3 separate regions of the Homo sapiens genome follow, and all the other regions are linked to region 1. Evidence: promoter capture Hi-C in 16 types of primary human blood cells and fetal thymus (Javierre and others, 2016). All regions are on one chromosome and are shown on one strand. Each heading gives the region's core, a stretch centred on a gene start or on the middle of the fragment in contact. The rest is flanking DNA. Distances are from core to core; before and after follow the strand shown.

The links. Contacts are between HindIII fragments. The CHiCAGO score rates a contact against its expected background, and 5 or more counts as called.
Region 2: a fragment that was not itself captured here is called in contact with the fragment with the promoter of PRKCH in region 1 in 1 of 17 cell types (monocytes); the score reaches 5.2 in monocytes.
Region 3: a fragment that was not itself captured here is called in contact with the fragment with the promoter of PRKCH in region 1 in 12 of 17 cell types (activated CD4 T cells, non-activated CD4 T cells, M1 macrophages and 9 more); the score reaches 19.6 in activated CD4 T cells.

What each region holds. Positions count from the first base shown.
Region 1 is chr14:61,319,659-61,323,830 of GRCh38, forward strand. PRKCH (protein kinase C eta) reads left to right here and starts at 1,921. Exons shown (of 14, transcript NM_006255.5): 1 at 1,921-2,806. The coding sequence starts at 2,444. It overlaps PRKCH-AS1 (PRKCH antisense RNA 1), which reads right to left and starts at 3,160. Exons shown (of 5, transcript NR_186042.1): 1 at 2,877-3,160. RefSeq lists silencers at 1,714-1,983, 2,134-2,303 and enhancers at 2,265-2,809, 2,810-3,353. The HindIII fragment of the contact is 5,451 bases long and covers 1,024-4,172 here.
Region 2 is chr14:61,857,116-61,861,287 of GRCh38, forward strand. The region is part of intron 1 of SYT16 (synaptotagmin 16); the gene reads left to right. Among named protein-coding and RNA genes, the nearest start is that of SYT16, 46 kb to the left of the region's middle. The HindIII fragment of the contact is 927 bases long and covers 1,423-2,349 here.
Region 3 is chr14:61,833,119-61,837,290 of GRCh38, forward strand. All of the region lies in intron 1 of SYT16 (synaptotagmin 16), which reads left to right. Among named protein-coding and RNA genes, the nearest start is that of SYT16, 23 kb to the left of the region's middle. The HindIII fragment of the contact is 3,687 bases long and covers 1-3,635 here.

The DNA.
Region 1 (4,172 bases), core at 671-3,170:
GTGGCTCTTAAAGCTAGAGTTCAGCTGTTTGGAGGAAAGGGTGACAGAGCTGACCCACAGGGTAGATGCGACATCTTCCCCTGGAGCACTAAGGCCAAACAGGAGCCCCCTGGACGTTTGGGAGCAGGCTTTACAAGCCCTGCCTAAAGCTAAGATGTCATTAGAGTGATGCGTTGCATCCCTGCCTTGTTCTCTAAGGAAGCTTTGGTGTTTTCAAGACAGGCCCTTTCCCCCCTGGCCCATTGTCCTTACTTGTTTTCATTCTGTATAGTGCTGTTATTACGGGTCAGGCCTCCTTGCACTCATGTGAAATCGTTGAGAACCTACTCAATTAGAAAGTTCTGAACAGGGCCTTAGAGGAGTGGGGGCTAGAAAGATGAACCTGGGGCCAGGCACGGGGGCTCATGCCTGTAATCTTAACACTTTAGGAGGCAGGGGCTGGAAGATCACTTGAACCTGGGAGCTGGAGGTTATGGTAAGCCATGATCACACCGCTGTATTCCAGCCTGGATGACAAAGCAAAACCCAGTCTCTAAAACATAAAAGAAAGAAAGGAGGGAAGGAAGAAAGAAAGGAATGAAAGCAAGCCGAATCTGCTCCGAGGGAACCAGTATAGCAAGACAGAATGTAATCAAGTATCTTAAGAGTGGCCTAGGCTTGGCTGGGTGCTGTGGCTCACGCCTGTAATCTCAGCACTTTGGGAGGCCGAGGCAGGCGAATCACTTGAGGTCGGGAGTTTGAGACCAGCCTGACCAACATGGAGAAACCCTGTCTCTACTAAAAATACAAAATTAGCCGGGCGTGGTGGCGCATGCCTGTAATTCCAGCTACTCGGGAGGCTGGGGCAGGTGAATCGCTCGAACCTGGGAGGCGGAGGTTGCGGTGAGCCGAGATGGCGCCATTGCACTCCAGCCTGGGCAACAAAAGCGAAACTCCGTCTCAAAAACAACAACAACAACAACAACAAAAAGTGGCCTAGGCTTTTTGGGGAACAAATTGGTTGTGGCTGGCCCTCAGGGAGCAAGCTTTGCGGCATAGCAGCGTAGGCTAAAAGGTCCTCCCCGGAGACAAAATCTGCAGGGACCACGGGGTGGGAAGCATCAGAAGGCTGCCCACTCTGACTGCAAATACAACAAGCTGGAGTGTTCCTAGAAGAGGCAATTTCTTCCGCGTGTGTGTTGGGGACAGCCTGTGTGTGTGAACATTTTCTGCCCTTGCCGCGCAGAGCTGGGTGGACCAGAAACCACCCGCAGAGGAAGAGACTTATTACCTCTTGGCCATGTCTGTCTCCAGAAGAACCGACCTTTCCTGCTCTATGTGCAACAAGACACACCTTCCGAGGAAGGAGGCGAACAGGATTTCCATCATTACTACTGCCCTATTAAAACACACACATACACACAACTGTGTAATTAGCCTCTGCAGGAAAGGCGCACAAACAGGATGCGTTCGAGCTGACCCCGGGATGAGCCATCCCTGTAAATATTAGGAAAAAGAACCTCCCCGCCGTGCCCCCGCCTCCGGCCAGGGCCTCTTGGGGATGGCCCTGCAGGGTCACCAGCCCACCGGGGAGGTTGGGAGAGAGGGGGCGGGCGACTCCTCGCCGCGCGGGTTCCTGGCTGGAGCGCCCTCCTCTGCGTCCTCCCAACCTTCCATCGCTCCCCAGGTCAGTCTACCACGCCTCAGGTGTTTGCTCGGGCTGGGCCACGAACCCTTTCCTTTTTGGCCTGCGCCCGGGGTGGCCCCTAACCCGCAGCGCACGGCCAGACCCAGCGCTACAAGGAGGGCGCGCAGGGCGGCGCAAGCGGGCACTGGCCTCCCGGGGGCTTGCGCGGGGATCCACCCACCGCAGGGCCGGGCCGCGGACCGCGGGCCACGCCCCTGGGGTCCGGAAGGCGCGGGAGCGGACGCGGGGGTTCTGTGAACTTGGAACCTGGCGGTGCGAGGTTCTCGCCGGGGATGCGGCGGCGGCAGCTGCTTCCTGGTTTGAAGCTCGCCGAGTGGGGGAGAGCGTGAGCCTTCGGAGGCGGGGGCAGGAGGAGAAGCAAGAGGAGGCGGGGGAAGAGACGCTTGGGGCTGGGGCTCACCGGACGGGTAGGTCCGGCTCTCCAGGGAGAGGAGCTGCCCGGCCCTGGAGAAGGGGCGAGTCCTGCGCGAGTCCCCGGGAGGCGCCGCGCGCTTGGAAGGGACGGTCGGGCTTCCCCGGCCCGCTGAGGGCTCGGCGGCGGGCTCCCCTCCTTTCCACCTCGGGAGGGAGGGAAGGAGGGGAGGGAAAAGTCCCACGGAGGAGGCAGAATGGCCAGTCGAGGGGCGCTTAGGCGCTGCCTTTCCCCAGGGCTGCCTCGACTCCTGCACCTGTCCCGAGGGCTGGCCTGAGACGGGACTCCCGGTTCTCCCGCTGCGAAGCAGCGCGGCCCCCCGGGGCCGGGGCAGCGGCGCCGGCATGTCGTCTGGCACCATGAAGTTCAATGGCTATTTGAGGGTCCGCATCGGTGAGGCAGTGGGGCTGCAGCCCACCCGCTGGTCCCTGCGCCACTCGCTCTTCAAGAAGGGCCACCAGCTGCTGGACCCCTATCTGACGGTGAGCGTGGACCAGGTGCGCGTGGGCCAGACCAGCACCAAGCAGAAGACCAACAAACCCACGTACAACGAGGAGTTTTGCGCTAACGTCACCGACGGCGGCCACCTCGAGTTGGCCGTCTTCCACGAGACGCCCCTGGGCTACGACCACTTCGTGGCCAACTGCACCCTGCAGTTCCAGGAGCTGCTGCGCACGACCGGCGCCTCGGACACCTTCGAGGGTTGGGTGAGTAGCGGTGACCCCTTCCCTTTGTGTCCACCCAACCCCCGTTCCCCTTATGTTTTTCAAAACTCACCCGGGTCCCGCTTTCCCATCGCTTTGTGGCTGAGGGAATTCCCTCCAGACTTTGGTCTTCGTCCACGTGGCCGCGGCACTGGTGACGCGACCGCGGTGGGTGTGTGCAGGCGCAGGTGTGTCTCCAGGAAGCCGGCCTGGACACGATCCCCTTTCAGGACAGCGGCTTGGCCTAACGGGAAGTCGGGCAGGGGTCCAGGGCGGTCACCCTTTCCGCCCAGTCTTTGGGTAAGGAGCTCCAACTTTCAGCACGAGAGTGATAGGTAGGAAAGGCAGGGAAGGAGTGATACAAAAGGGACTTGATTTGGGTAAAGTGCTTCAAGCGCTACTTAGGAGAAAGCCGTACATTCTCGCGAGTATTATTCATAATGTTTATGGATACATGTTGGTTCAGCCGCTCAGACGTGCACACGTGTTTCGGCTTGCACATCCCAGAGGTACATGAGCTACACTGGCAGGGAAATGAGCGCCTGGGTCTGCACGTTGGCAGTTTTATTATTTAGCATTTTTCCAAGGAGATGAGATTTACATATACTTGCAAGTAACTTAGTCAGTCCGAGGTGGGAGTCCTGCAGTGTGGGTTTCTGCTGCTATGGGTCTGAGAAGAGGCTGTAAGGACTCCTCAGGAGGTTGTTAACTGTCTTCCCTCCCCCCATCACCAGCCTGTGTTCCTGGGTATTGACGTGTAGCTACCCGCAGCTCTCCCCTTGCCTCTGCTTTTCACATAGTTCCCAGGAGGCATAATTTCTGCTGTAAATCAATTAAAACTTCTAGAGCGCTCTACACGGTGCTAACATGCTTTTACTGCCTAATCCTCACACTGTCTTTGTGATGCAGGTGTCATCGTTCCCACTTTGAGATGATGGAATGATAATTATAATAAAGTAGTCTGGTTTGGCAAAGTGGAGTACGCCATTTGAAGACTCTCAGGAGTTTAATAGTTTAAGTTCTGGAGGGAGTCAGTTTTGAACCCAATATCAGTATTGAAAATGTTTGAAATTTACAAGTGGTGAAATCAGATGGATGGTGATGAAGGCTCATTTAGGTATTTATTTTATACTTTGTGGAATTAGTAATTTTACCGTATATTTTCTAAAATTAAAGATGGCTTGTGGAGCTATTCCTTTCTTTTAAATAGAAGTACAAAAACCATAATGACTAACCTTAATCGTCAAATTATATTGAGTTAATTTCCCTTCAGCCTAATTTACTTTGTGGTACTTAGAAGTGGGGACTAGAGAGGAATTGCTAAAATACAGTTAGATATTTACATTTATCCTGTGAATTTCTGGAAATG
Region 2 (4,172 bases), core at 636-3,135, 540 kb after region 1:
GGTGTGTTATTGAGATGGTTGCTCCAGACTGTGGGGTCAGCTCCACTGAGACATCTAAGAAGGATGTAAAGCGCCAGCCACAATTTTCTGCTCAGACAATGGGAAGCTGGGACATGTGTCTGGTCCCCCTTGGTTGAGGGTTTTCTTGAGAGTGTTAACTCTTCTCTACTTCTGGGATTTGCAAGCTCTTGTGGGAGAAACCTTGAGGCTGAAAGCAGAGAGAGATGAGGTGGGTGCTTGTTAAGGAATGCTGTTAATGAGCACGGAACCAACTGCAGCTATGACTGAAATTAGAGGTGGGCCCAGGGAACATGACATGTACCATAGAAAGTGTCTACTTCGAAGATTGACAGTTGACTGCCAGAGTTTACAAAGTGAGTTTCCCTAGTGACCTTGAGAAAGCAATGTAATGGAGTGGTGGGGTAAGCCTGGCTGGAGTTGGTTAAGGAAGAGGGGCTGGAAAGAGCATATAGACAGTACTAAAGGAGAGTGCAGTCAAGAGGCTGGAGGGGAAGTGGGAGCAAGAGATTTTCTTCTTAAGATGGGAGAAATAATAGCATGTACAGTGATAGGAATAACTCAGTAGAAAGGGAAAAATCTCTGATGCAGGAGAGAAAGAATTGATGGAACAGTGTCTTTGAGTAGAAGAGAGGTTGGAATCCAGTGCATAAATGGAGGATTTGACCTAAGATGGGAACACAAGCAATTCATCTCTAATAAAAGGGAAGAAAGAGTATATGGAAGGAAAGTTTGGTCCCTTCTGATTGTCTGTCTGTCTGTCTGTCATTTTGACAGGGGGAAAAAACATTCAAAATTTATTTTCCAGCAGACAGCATCAGTGGATAAAACTACAGGGGTTTCTCTGTAGATCATACATTCACAAGACATTATCATCTCAACAGTGAGAAAGCCACTGTTGTGTTCTCCGTAACAGTATCCACTTCACAGTGTAAGCATGTACTATTGTGTTCACTTACAATTCCAGAAGGAAAGGCACAGCTTGGCAAAAAAAAAAAAAAAAAAAAAAAGAAAGAAAAAAAGAAAAAAAAAATTGGGGAATCCTAAAGTCAAGGTGCAATAACTAAGAGACAAAACTTGGCAAACAGTCTTAGGTCCACATTTCAATCAGGGCCTTCCGCATACAGGGGAAAGACTTTTCCACCCAGAAGTTAGGATCTTTCTTTCTCCTTTCCCGTTAAGCCATTAGAGGAACAATAATTCATATGCTCAATGTTATTACATGTACAAAAGGAGATTATAAAAAAATGGAATAAAAAGATCATCTTGAACATTCAGTTCTTCCCACCAATACATCAACTCTTAAGTTTAAGACAGGGCCTGGGAATACTTCAGTGGTCTTAAAATAGGAAAGCAGAGACTATGACTACAACAAATAAAAAATAAATGAGGTAGATAAAATAAAGCTTTCACACCCAGGATTTGCCTGTTCCAACTTCCTAGGCTTCATGAAATACCCAGGAAAAAAAATCTTCATAATTACTTGGCATAAGTCGCACCAAGGAAATTAAACAAAAAAATTAGTACGTGAACTTGTGATAGGAAACGTGTCCTTCCATAAGTTTCTTCTCAAGAATGAAAAACTAGTTTTTCAATAGAGTAGGCACTGATACAGGGGTTAAGAAGAAATCACTTAGGCAGATAGTAAGGTTATGGGAGTCCTCGGTAAGGCTTTTTAATGAAAAGCAGCCCCAAATCATTTTCTTTTTTCTTTTCTTTTCTTTTCTTTTTTTTTTTTTGAGACGGAGTCTCACTCTGTTGCCCAGGCTGGAGTGCGGCTGTGCGATCTCGGCTCACTGCAACCTCCGCCTCCTGGGTTCACGCCATTCTCCTGCCTCAGCCTCCCGAGTAGCTGGGACTACAGGCGCCCACCACTACGCCCGGCTAATTTTTTTTTTTGTATTTTTAGTAGAGACGGGGTTTCACCATGTTAGCCAGGATGGTCTTGATCTCCTGACCTCATGATTCGCCCGCCTCGGCCTCCCAAAGTGTTGGGATTACAGGCGTGAGCCACCGCGCCCGGCCAGCCCCAAATCATTTTCTAACAAAGAGCAGCCTGTAAAGTCGAGCTGCAGACGTAGACAGCCAACCTGGGAGCTTGCGCTAGTGAATGCTGGCGGGAACTAGGGACTAGACATGTTGGCTCCATCTTCCTTTAGGTGCCAGCCATGTGTACAGTAAAGAGCGACAAGATGGCGGCCAGACACGGAGAGTTCATTAGCATAATAAGATTAGGGTGGGGTGACCGGATTTGGGCGTGCTATGTAAACTTCACATTTGATTAAACCAATCTGTGAGCCCTACCTACCTAAATCAGACACCACCTCCTCAAGCTTTACTATACAATCCGGCACATCCACAGCCAGCCCATCTTTTCCGCTCGGAAAACCCCTCTCTCTCTCGACAGAGAGAGCTGTTTCTCTTCTTCTGCCTATTAAACCTTTACTCCTAAAGGTTTAGGACACAGACACAAACTCCTTGTGTCTGTGTCCTAAATTTTCCAATGCCAAATGGTGAGCCCCTGGATATATACCCCAGACAATGTAGCCTCCTCAGCACTGGAAAACCAAATTAAGTCACCTGAGATTCCTAGCTCAAGTGCTCACAGGAAGATGAAGGCATCTGGGAAGTGTGGGGAGGACATTGGCACACTTGGGGCTCCAAGCGAACTATATTATAATAAGCAGCAACACATTGACTCCCTAAAGACTAACATAAATCCATTTGAAGGCATCTTAAGGTTCTAAGGTTGAAATAATTTTATAATTCTTTGTTTGGAAAAGTACATTCAAAAGAAAACAAAAAGATGTGGATAAGGTCGGGGACATATAAAACAAGTCCCTAAATAGATGACAGACCTTGTCCATATACCCACATACAGTTGCCACAGAAATAAACAGTACCCTTCTCCTCAATTAGGCTCAATAGTTGTCTTTTCCACTGTGGTTCAGTACGTTTTAATGGTTCCACCTTGAAATAGGTAACAATCTTTGGAAAAAGTCACTCTAGGTTGCACAAAGGTTTTATGTTTACAGTTTGGTACAAGTAACAAAGCTACTTTGAAAGAACTGCTTCTTTCCAAACAACAACAACAACAACAACAAACCATTCTAGCCTGTATTTGTTTGGGTGTGATTTATTTTTAGTTTTCATTTTTTGCAAAGCAGCACAGAAGCAATTATAGGAGTGTAGTAATAACCTTTGTAAACATCATTTGCATATCAGTAAGAACTGATTGTCTTTCATTCCTTTTTAGTGAAAGAGGAAGCAAGATGATCAACTCAGAGTGAATAAGGTGGGGAGGTGCTGGCAATTTGAGATTTGTCATCTAGGACTGCAGTGCACAAAGTGGCCAGTTGGGGAGCCCTTGGTTACTGACTTGCCAGGAGATGAGTACAGAAAGTGAGAGCAAGCTTTTAGAAACTGTTATAGCACTTGACATTGCTGTAACATTTTTATTGTATTTTTAAAAAGTATTGGTCTATAATAGATTGGAAATAAAAACATCTAGTCCTCACAGCAGATAGTTTAAGAGGCACTGGGCCAAGAGAATGGGAGAAAATGGAGTAGGGAAAAGTAGAAAGATTGCTGCACTACATTGAGGATCCACCTGAGGCTTGAGGCCATGAATTTCATGTGAGGCCATTCGATTCAAGAGTGTTTTTCTCCAGCCTTGTTTAGCTATGTTGATACAGGCAGTGTTGGATTTTACCAGGGTGTGGTTTTGCTAAGTGGGCCTAATGCAGTGGGAAGATGCAAGTGTTGAGGAAGTATTCAAGTGAGGTGTACGGAGACTGACCATGGCATTTTAAGCTGGGGGAAGAAGAAAGCAATCGGAGGAGGGTGAGAGGCAGTGACGAAAGTGGTAGGATGGATGGAATCTAGGACCAGGAAGAATCAAGTTGGCTGGAGTTGGAATGTAGGACCAGCAAGGAGTGAACTAGAAGTATGGAAGGTGGTGATCAGAGAGTGGGATTTCTGATAATGAGATTCATCACAATACTGCTCACCAACTGGGAGGGAATCTGAATTAATTATTTTGTATATATCCAGTGGACTATTTTGTAGCCATTAGAGCTCATGTTGTCATTCTATTTCTTTATGGGCACAGAAATGTTCAGGATATCTTAAGTGAAAAAAGCTTACCAATTTGC
Region 3 (4,172 bases), core at 542-3,041, 510 kb after region 1:
TTTTCATGTTGTGTTTACTGTATCCCTAGGAATTTTGGTGGTCCTGGATCACTTTTTATAGTAACAATTCATCTTGGAGTATTAAAAACTGTATGGAGGAAACATTTAGACCCCTCAACCTGTGCAAGTCCTAGATTTCTATTTCTCATGGCTCATGGGTGGCTTTTTTTTCTTTTCTTTTTTTTTTTTTTGAGACGGAGTCTTGTTCTTGTTGCCCAGACTGGAGTGCGATGGCTCGATCTCAGCTCACTGCAACCTCTGCCTCCCGGGTTCAAGCGATTTTCCTGCCTCAGCCTCCCGAGTAGCTGGGATTACAGGCATGGGCCACCATGCCCATCTAATTTTGTATTTTTAGTAGAGACGGGGTTTCTCCATGTTGGTCAGGCTGGTCTCGAACTTCTGACCTCAGGTGATCTGCCTGTCTCCAAAGTGCTGGGATTACAGGCGTGAGCCACCGTGCTTGGCCAATTTTTGTATTTTTAGTAGAGACAGAGTTTTGCCATGTTGGCCAGGCTGGTCTTGAACTCCTGACCTTGTGATCCCAAAGTGCTGGGATTACAGACATTAGCCACTGCGCCCAGCAGTGGCTTTTTTTTTTTTTTTTTTTTTAAATTTAAATTTTAAACTCAAGGACCAGGGCACTCAGCAGCTTCCTCGCTCTTTCTTTGCGCTAGCGAGCAGGCTGTGTACAGTTTCCTTTTTACTTACAGGACTGTTCTTTAAGGTGCAGGGCTTTATTCCTGCAGGGAGTTGGAGGTGGAGCTTCCAATCCTGTTCTTTTTCCCTGTGGAGTCCCATAGCCTCTAAGTCTGAAACTAAATTTCCAGTGGATTGCTGAAGCTCTGGCTTTGATTTTTTTTTTTTTTTTTTTTAAATTTTGGAATCTGGGAGATACTTGTTCTTTGGAAGTAATTTTGCTTATTGGTTATATTTTATTTAGAATTTCCATGTGTTTTTAGTGGGAAGGATGCATCCATATCAGCTCTGTATACTACACGGTTAAATGTCCTGATTCACATTTATTTTTTTTGAGATGGAGTCTCCCACTGTCGCCTGGGCTGGAGAGCAGTGGTGCGATCTCGGCTCACTGTAACCTCCACCTCCCAGGTTCAAGCAATTCTCCTGCCTCAGCCTCCTGAGTAGCTGGGATTACAGGCACCTGCCACCATGCCTGGCTAATTTTTTATATTTTTAGTAGAGACAGGGTTCCATCATGTTAGCCAGGTTGGTCTTAGACTCTTGGCCTCGTGATCTGCCTGCCTTGGCCTCTCAAAGTGCTGGGATTACAGGCATGAGCCACCGTGCCTGGCTTTTTTTTTTTTTTTTTTTTTTTTGAGACAGAGTCTTGCTCTTGTTGCCCAGGCTGGAGTGCAATGTGGTGTGATCTCGGCTCACTGCAACCTCTGCCTCCCGGGTTTAAGTGATTCTTCTGCCCCAGCCTCCCAAGTAGCTGGGATTACAGGTGTGCGCCACCATGCCTGGCTAATTTTGTATTTTTAGTAGAGATGGGGTTTCACCATGTTGGCCAGGTTGGTCTTGAACTCCTGACCTCAGGTGATCTGCTTTCCTTGGCCTCCCAAAGTGTTGAGATTACAGACATGAGCCACTGCACCCAGCCCTGATTCACATTTGATATACCAGATCACCCATCCATCTATCCAGTTGTACTGGTATATAAATACTGTTTGATGCTCTGAATTGTTCTCTCTTAAAATTATTCATTAAACACACTGCTGTATTCCAATTACCTGTTGTTTGAAAAAGATGTGTGTTGATATATGATGGTATATAGCATAGCATTCCCATAAAACCAGGCATGTGTTTGGGAATATTTGTTTCCAAAGCACTTGTTTTAGTTTCATTAAGGTCTTAAAGAAACTTACCTTTTTATAAATCCTGACCTTTTATACCCACTTTGCATATGAAGATATTAAGAGAAATTGTTGCATTGTTTGCTGTGATAAGACATTTTCAAGGAAGAAGGCAGTGTGTGCTGATTTATAGCTTTAAGAACAGCAAAAAACAGTTAATAGGCTGCTACTTTGAGCAGCACTGACTAGTGGAGTAATGTGTATAAGGACCTGCCTTTTCAATAAATAGTACACTGTAAATGTTGTCTCATGAAAGGTGAATTTTTTTTTTTTTTTTTTTTTTTTTGAGACAGAGTCTCACATTGTCGCCCGGGGAAAGAGTGCAGTGGCGCGGTCTCGGCTCACTGCAACCTCCTCCTTCTGGGTTCAAGTGATTCTCCTGCTTCAGCCTCCCAAGTAACTGGGATTACAGGCGCCTGCCACCATGCCCAGCTAATTTTTTGTATTCTTAGTAGAGATGGGGTTTCATTATGTTGGCCAGGCTGGTCTCAAACTCCCGACCTCTTGATCTGCCCATCTTGGCCTCCCAAAGTGCTGGGATTACAGGCGTGAGCCACTGCGCCCGGCCAGGTGACTTTTTTTTTTTATGATTGATTTTATCAATCACCTTTTTATGGCCATTTAGGGATTTTTAAAAGATCAAAAAATACTGCCAGAATATTCCTGAAATTATCTTTTTACACTGTTTTCTTCTTCTGGGTGCAGAACTGCTGAGTCAAAGGATATACTCATTTAATATTTTGATGTTGCCAAATTTCCCTACAGAAGGATTGTACCAATTTATACTTTGATCAGCAGCACATTGATAACAAAATCAAACAAAACTTTTCTACAGAAATACATTTTAAACTATAGATAATGGAACAAAAATTTTCCTACCTGGCTCACAGAAACTTTTCCTGTCTTTCTCAATTTACATGTCCCAGGTGAGTAAGACCCACTCTCGTTGGCCTAGAACGGTGGTTTACAAAATATGGTTACTGGACTAGTAACGTTGCCATCACCGGGAACTTGTTAGAAATTTAATTAATCAGAACTTGTATCAGATCCACTGATTGAGAAACCTGGTGGAGCGTAGCAATCAGTGTTTTGATTAGCCCCCCAGGTGATTCTGGTACTTGCTAAAGTTTGAAAACCACTGGTCTAGGGGCAGCTTATCTTTGTATAACCCAGAGGTCAGCTCAAGTCTTTACTCCTGTATCCTTCATACACATCATAGAAATTGAATTCCTGGGGGTTGATTTCTCATGGTACCTTCCACCTCTTTGTGCCTGCACCTGCGTGTGTTTATTGCTCTACTTTACTGCCGGTGGCTGCTCTTGTGTCTGCATTGCAATGGCCCAGATCGGCAAAGGAAAAGGAATCCATTTGCCTTAATTCACACAAACATCAGCAGTCCATTCACTTGAAAGGCATTTGAATATGTAGAAAACCAATTGATGGTTTGGAGGGATAGGAGAAGTTTATATCTTGGTAACATAAACAGTCTAAAATTGAATATTAAATGTGCACCTTCTGAAATCCTGTAGCCATTCTCCTACATTCCTTCCCCAGTCCCTCATTTTCCTTTCTACTCCACCTCCCATTGATTTGCTTTTTTCTCTAGAGTGATTTACTAATTCTATTTGTTTCCTTGTCTTCTGTTGTAATAACCAGGATTTTTATTGCAGACATTACAACCTACTCAACTACCTTAAGAGAAAAGAGTCTCAACTATAGAGTTACATGGCAGCTTACAGAATTGATGAGAGGGCCGGGGAAACAAGCTTGTTAGCCATTCAGTCATAGGTAACCTTTACATCCATTTATTTATGTCTGTCTTAATTTCTTTCATTGAATTTCTAAACTTCTATGAATTTTTTTGTGTGGCCTTAAATTAATACCCAGTTAGGTTTTTATTTTCTGTCATGATTTCATGCAAATTTTCTGATTGCTCTGCAGATTTTCCAATCTCTCCTACCTCCCCTGCAGACAGTACGCTAACCCCTACTGATAGGAGGAGCAAGGGAAGTGATTTGAATATAAGGCCAATTCCCCTTGACTGAGGCAGTTGAACCTGCATTTGATGAGTTTGACATTGAGCTTATCTTTCTTCCTGTTTGAAGACAGGACTTTGAGATTGAGGGGGTTTCAAATGATACCTCTATTCAGTGGTAAGTCTGTGCTGGTGAGCAGGGCCAGGCCTCCTCATAGGTGTTGATCCTAACAGATTTCCATGATTCTCCACTGAGTGGCAGAGGCTGATTTTTTTTTTTTTTTTTTTTTGAGACAGGGTCTTGCTCTGTTGACCAGGCTGGAGTG